Regions from separate parts of the Homo sapiens genome. Here region 2 is linked to region 1. The links are contacts of gene promoters, found by promoter capture Hi-C in blood cells and fetal thymus (Javierre and others, 2016). All regions are on one chromosome and are shown on one strand. The core of a region is centred on a gene start or on the middle of the fragment in contact, and the rest is flanking DNA. Distances in the headings are between cores, read along the strand shown.

Region 1 (2,788 bases), core at 94-2,593:
ATTTCAGGGAGGGAAAATAGCCCTTGCAAAGGTTTGGAGTGGAAGAGCAAAAGGGATGTCCCAAGAACTGTGCCTCATTTGATGGGGCTGTGGGGCCCTTCTCTGACGGGCAGCCTTCCCAGGCACAAAGGGAGGTGGACTGAGAAGCATCTGGAACTTCTGTGGGGGCACATGGGGCAGAGGGGAAGGGGAACAGGCAGAACGAGTCAGCTGCCTTTGAAAGCTCCACGAGGGACCTAGCAGAAATTCATTCATTCATCCGTTCATTCATTTATTTATGACAGGTTCTCTCTCTGTCACCCAAGCTGGAGTGCGGTGGTGTGATCACACTTACTGCAGCCTCAAACTCTTGGGCTCAAGCAATCCTCCACCCCAGCCTCCTGAGTACCTAGGACTACAGACGTGAGCTACTACACCTGGCTAATTTTTAAAACTTTTTAGAGACAGGGTCTCCCTTTGTTGCCCAGGCTGGTCTTTGTTGCCCAGCCAGCTTCAAGCCATCCTCCCACCTCAGACTCCCAAAGCGCTGGATTACAGGCATGAGCCACGGGTTCCCAGCCCAGAAAGAGACCTTCACCCCACAAACCCCCTGTCTGGAGGCCAAGTCCCAGCATCCCCAGAAGGGCCCCGGTTAGGACAAGAAAAAGGCTGTGTGCCTCGGAGGAGAGGCTGGGTGCCCCCTGGTGCGGAGTGGTCCCCTTGCCGGGCATGGGGCCTCAGTCTGTGAGACTCCGCGCCTCCGTCGTCTGAACTTGAGCAAAGACAGAGCTAGGCCTAGCCTGGGGACCCGAGGGCCTGCCCTCATCCGCAATTCTGCCTCTTTTCTGGCCACTGAGGACCGGGCTAGGGAAGCTGTAGGGGCAGTAGGGGTGGGAGGAGAGAGGGTTCCGGGTCAAGGGACTGGAGGGGTCTGGGGCAGGGAAGTGGAGGGGTCTAGGGCGGGCCCTTCCCCCTCCGCTGTTGGGCCCTCGCTGAAGGGGCCGAGGCTGAGCCCCAAGGTGGGCCTGTGGGGGCGGGGCGGGGGAGCCCCTCAGCAGCTGGACCGCAGGAGGCCGACCAGGGTCTGGAACTCCTCTTCCCCTCCCTCCGCCGCCCCCTCTCCCTTCTCCCACCCCCTGGGCTGCTAGGGGAGCGGGGGAGGCGCAGGAGGGGCTCAGGGAGGGGCCCTGGACGCGGGACCAGGCTGGGCCCCTCGGCGGAGGCCCGCGCAGGCAGGCCCCGCCCCGGCCTCGCACATCTGGGCCGGGAGCGCGGGCCGACCCGGCGGCGCAGGCGGCGCGGCCATCCGGCCTGGGGGAGGGGGCGGCGGGCGGGGTGGGCGGCGCGAGGAGGCGGGAGGCCTCAGGGCCGGGCGCACGTCGAGGGCTGCGGCCGCCGCAGCGGGCACGGCCAACGAGCTGCGGGCCCGGGATCGCGGCGGCTGGACGGGGCTGGAGCTGTCGGGAGGGCGGAGGTGAGTTCTGGGGCGGGGGCTGCCGGGCGCCCCGAGTGGAGAAAGGCGAGGAGGTTTGCCGTCCCGGGCTGTCGGCTGAGACCCCACCAAAAACCTCCAGACTTTGTCTGGTGGGGACAGATCTGCAAGCCCCTCTCTGCAGCGTGGCTGCGGGCTCGGGAAGGCACTTGGGGCAGCGACCTTGGTCTCCCACCTGGGCTTCGGGGGACCACCTCCCCTGTCCCTCGCACAGCTGCTCAGAGGCTTAGGCTGGAGAAACTCCTGTGTCTTAGGGGCTGGCAGGACTGGTGTGGGCTGGGGCCTGCTCCAGGGAGCCAAACTGAGGGACCCGGTGCCTAGGTCTGAGGTGGAAACCTGGGAGTTGAGTGTATGTGTGTGTGTTGGGGGGTGCCTCAGGGGTCCCAGGCCCTGTGGTCCCGAAGCGCAACAGAGTACTGAGTGGCCCAGGTGCCAGGGTCTGAGGCTGGGACCTGGTCTTCCGGGCCAGCTTGAGGTCCAGGTGGGGTGGGGTCCAGGTTCCCGCTAGGGCAGTGGAGCCTATCTGTGAGGTTAGCGTGTGTTGATGAGAGAGACTGGAAGGGAGTGATCACGAAACTAGGGACCCTCCGGAGAGCAGACGCAGCGCAGGAATCCCAGGCCAGAGGGGTAATGGGGGGCTGTGGGCAGAGCATGGGAGGGGCTCTGTTGTTTGTGAACTGGCTGCTCCCATGATGAGGACCCAAGGGGGTGCGGCAGGATGTATGGAAAGCAAAGATGAGGACAGGGAGGGGCCATGGGAGGCCATTTCTGTCACTCCCTGCCCCAGCGCAGGATGGGGCAGCCACCTCACTCAGCCACACATGGTCCCATCTTCTTAAGGGCTCCTCTCCAGAACAGAGTGGGGCAGCCCTTTGGGTGCCGTTTCTGATCTGTGCTTTGGGCCCTGGTTGGCCCAGTCTGTGGCTTGGAAGAAACGCCTGTGGCCTCACTTAGCCCGCTGACGGAGTCCTGTTCCATTACAGGGCTGGCTGGGTGCTGAGCAGAGAGCAGCAGGCGGAAGAGGCAGGGTCCTAGTGAGGAGGGGAGCTGGAATGACCTGGGTGGGCTCTTTGTCTACACAGGCATCGTGTGGAGCCCTGAAACCCAGAACACTGCATTCCCATAGTGCTCCTGGGGACATGAGCGCCCAGCTGAAACACCCCACACAGGAAGAGATCCTCCGAGGATTCTGTCAGGCAAAGGGTTGGGCCCCTGCAAGGTGGCTCACGCCTGTAATCCCAGCACTTTGGGAGGATGAAGTGGGAGGATCGCTTGAGGCCAGGTGGTCGAGGCTGCAGTGAGCCGTGATCGTGCCAC
Region 2 (2,788 bases), core at 160-2,659, 470 kb after region 1:
ATGGCTTTCATTTCACAAGTCAGGGGGCCAAAGAGATGAGCTTGACTGTTGCGAACGATATCTGCCTTTGCTCTTCAGGCAGGAACTGGGGAACTAACCCTGCAGGGGTTCAGATTTCTTGGGCTACTGCAAGACAGCCTTCGGTCAAAGCTCCATTAACTTACTAGCTACATGGCCCCCACTGTGATCAGTGTTTTTTAATCTCTGAAAGGTTTTTTTTCCTACCTAGTGAACAATCACACAGATACTTTTGTAGAACGAAGATGTTTACAAAACAAAGCATGTGGGGCAAGTGTACCCAGCCTTCCTTTTATTCAAGAGGTTCTGGGACAGTGAACTTACCCAGATTAATCAATTTCACGGGGTATGCCATATTTTAGGAATAACTTTTTGGACAATTTGTCCGCACGTCTATTTCCTTAAACTTGCCATTTTATGTCCTTGCACAGTTATTATGTTACAATATATTCTCCACCATCAAATTTTCACACTTCCAGGATTCAATAAAAAAGCTTAGCAATGCCTGTGAGGCATGAAGATTACCTTCTGAATCATCAAAGAGAGATGTTTTTTTCTTTCTTTTTTTTGAAATGGAGTCTCACTCTGTCACCCAAGCTGGAGTGCAGTGGCCTATCTTGGCTCACTGCAACCTCCGCCTCCCGGGTTCAAGTGATTCTCCTGCCTTAGCCTCTGGGAGCAGCTGGGATTACAGGCACGCTGCACTATGCCTGGCTTTTTTTTTTTTTTTTTTTTTTATTTTTAGTAGGGATAGGGTTTCATCATGTTGGCCAGGCTGGTCTGGAACTCCTGACCTCAAGTTGTCCACCCCCCTCTGCCTCCCAAAGTGATGGGATTATAGGTGTGCCCAGCCTGAATCATCATAGACAGATTTGATTAGGAACCATTGCTATATCCTAAATCTCTTTGGTCTATGATTCTTTCTCATTTTTACTTCAACTTTTTTTTTTTTTCCCAGACAGGCTGTTGCTCTGTCCCCCAGTCTGGAGTGCAGTGGTGTGATCATGGCTCACTGCAGCCTCAATCTTCTGGGCTCAAGCCATCCTCCCACCTCAGCCTCCTGAGTAGCTGGGGCCACAGGCATGCACCACCACACCTAGCTAATTTTTAAAATTATTTCTAGAGTGAAGGTCTCACTGTGTTGCCCAGGCTTCCACTTTGAACTCCTGGGCTCAAGCAGTCCTCCTGACTTGGCCTCCCAAAGTGTTAGGATTACAGGCATGAGACACTGCACCTGGCCTTTCTTCAACTTTGTATACTGAAACATAGCATACAGAGTGCAGGACAGTTCTCCTGGTGGCCTTGGACCAACCCAGCTCTTCCCCCTTTCTTGCTTGTAGTTCTCAAAATAACTGTAGAATGTGCTGGGAATGTAACATCCTGTGATAAGGAGGGATTGGCTGCAACTGCCTGCGCTCTGTTCCAGTCCTTGTCAGAAACAGGATGTCCTGTCTGGGCTCGGTGGCTCACGCCTGTAATCCCAGCACTTTGGGAGGCTGAGGTGGGTGGATCACCTGAGGTCAGGAGTTCAAGACCAACCTGGCCAACATGGTGAAACCCCGTCTCTACTAAAATACAAAAAATTAGCCTGGTGTGATGTTGGACGCCTGTAATCCCAGCTACTTGGGAGGCCAGGCAGGGAAATCGCTTGAACCTGGGAGGCGGAGGTTGCAGTGATCCGAGATCGTGCCACTGCACTCCAGTCTTGACCACAGAACGAGACTCCGTCTCAAGAAAAAAAAAAAAAAAAGAAACAGGATGTCCTTCAACACTTTAGTCCAGTGAATCATGTATCTCCGGGGTATAAAGCCCAGGTGGGCTGCTTCTTGGGAGCCCTCAGCTGCAGTGCAAGTGGGGCATGCACAGTTGAGACTCCATCTGCCCCAGGCTGCTTTCCTGAGCCTTAGGTGACCAGCTCACAATGAACCCTAGGCTTCTGTTATCCCTTGGTGCCTATCTGTAAGTAATAGATCCTCTTCATGTAACTTGTTGCATATGTGGGTGTTTTGTCTCACTGGACTCAGACAAGTTGGTAACTAAGTGCACAGTGAACCTGCTTCATGGAGATAATTACTCAAAATATAAATGTGTGATGAATTATCAGAGTGAACAGCTTTGTGCCATGAGGCAGGTAAAGAAATGAGACATGGCCAGCACTACCAAAGCCCCTTTCATGAAACATAAGTTCCTCCCACTTTCAAAAGGACTTGACTTCTAACACTATCATTTTTAATTTGTTTGCCTATCACGAACTTTCCATATTTGGAATCTCACAGAATGTGTTCTTTGAAGCTTGGCTTCTTTTGTGAAGCATTATATTCATGAGATGCATTATGTCGTTGTGTGAGGTAGTAGCTCATGCATTTTTATATATAATACATTTTTCTTATCTGATCTTTTTTTTAATTTTAATTTTAATTTTTTTTTTTTTTTTTTTTGAGACGGAGTTTCGCTCTTGTTGCCAAGGCTGGATTGCAACGGCCTGATCTTGGCTTACTGCAACCTCTGCCTCCTGGTTTCACGCGATTCTCCTGCCTCAGCCTCCTGAGTAGCTGGGAATACAGGCACCTGCCACCATGCCCGGCTAATTTTTTTGTATTTTGAGTAGAGACAGGGTTTCCCCATGTTGGCCAGGCTGGTCTTGAGCTCCTGGCCTCAAGTGATCCGCCCGCCTCGGCCTTCCAAAGTGCTGGGATTACAAGCATGAGCCACCATGCCCAGCCTTATTTGCTCTTTTTTTGATGGACATTTGGGGTGTTGTTATTCTTGT

The links. The method cuts DNA at HindIII sites, captures the fragments that hold promoters and counts their contacts. A CHiCAGO score of 5 or more calls a contact.
Region 2: a fragment that was not itself captured here is called in contact with the fragment with the promoter of HSPA12B in region 1 in 1 of 17 cell types (neutrophils); the score reaches 5.1 in neutrophils.

The regions. Positions count from the first base shown.
Region 1 is chr20:3,731,342-3,734,129 of GRCh38, forward strand. It overlaps HSPA12B (heat shock protein family A (Hsp70) member 12B), which reads left to right and starts at 1,344. Exons shown (of 13, transcript NM_052970.5): 1 at 1,344-1,453. RefSeq lists an enhancer at 1,406-1,985. The HindIII fragment of the contact is 6,119 bases long and covers 1-2,788 here.
Region 2 is chr20:4,200,808-4,203,595 of GRCh38, forward strand. No RefSeq gene overlaps it. Among named protein-coding and RNA genes, the nearest start is that of LINC01433, 9.1 kb to the left of the region's middle. RefSeq lists a silencer at 1,272-1,472. The HindIII fragment of the contact is 1,798 bases long and covers 511-2,308 here.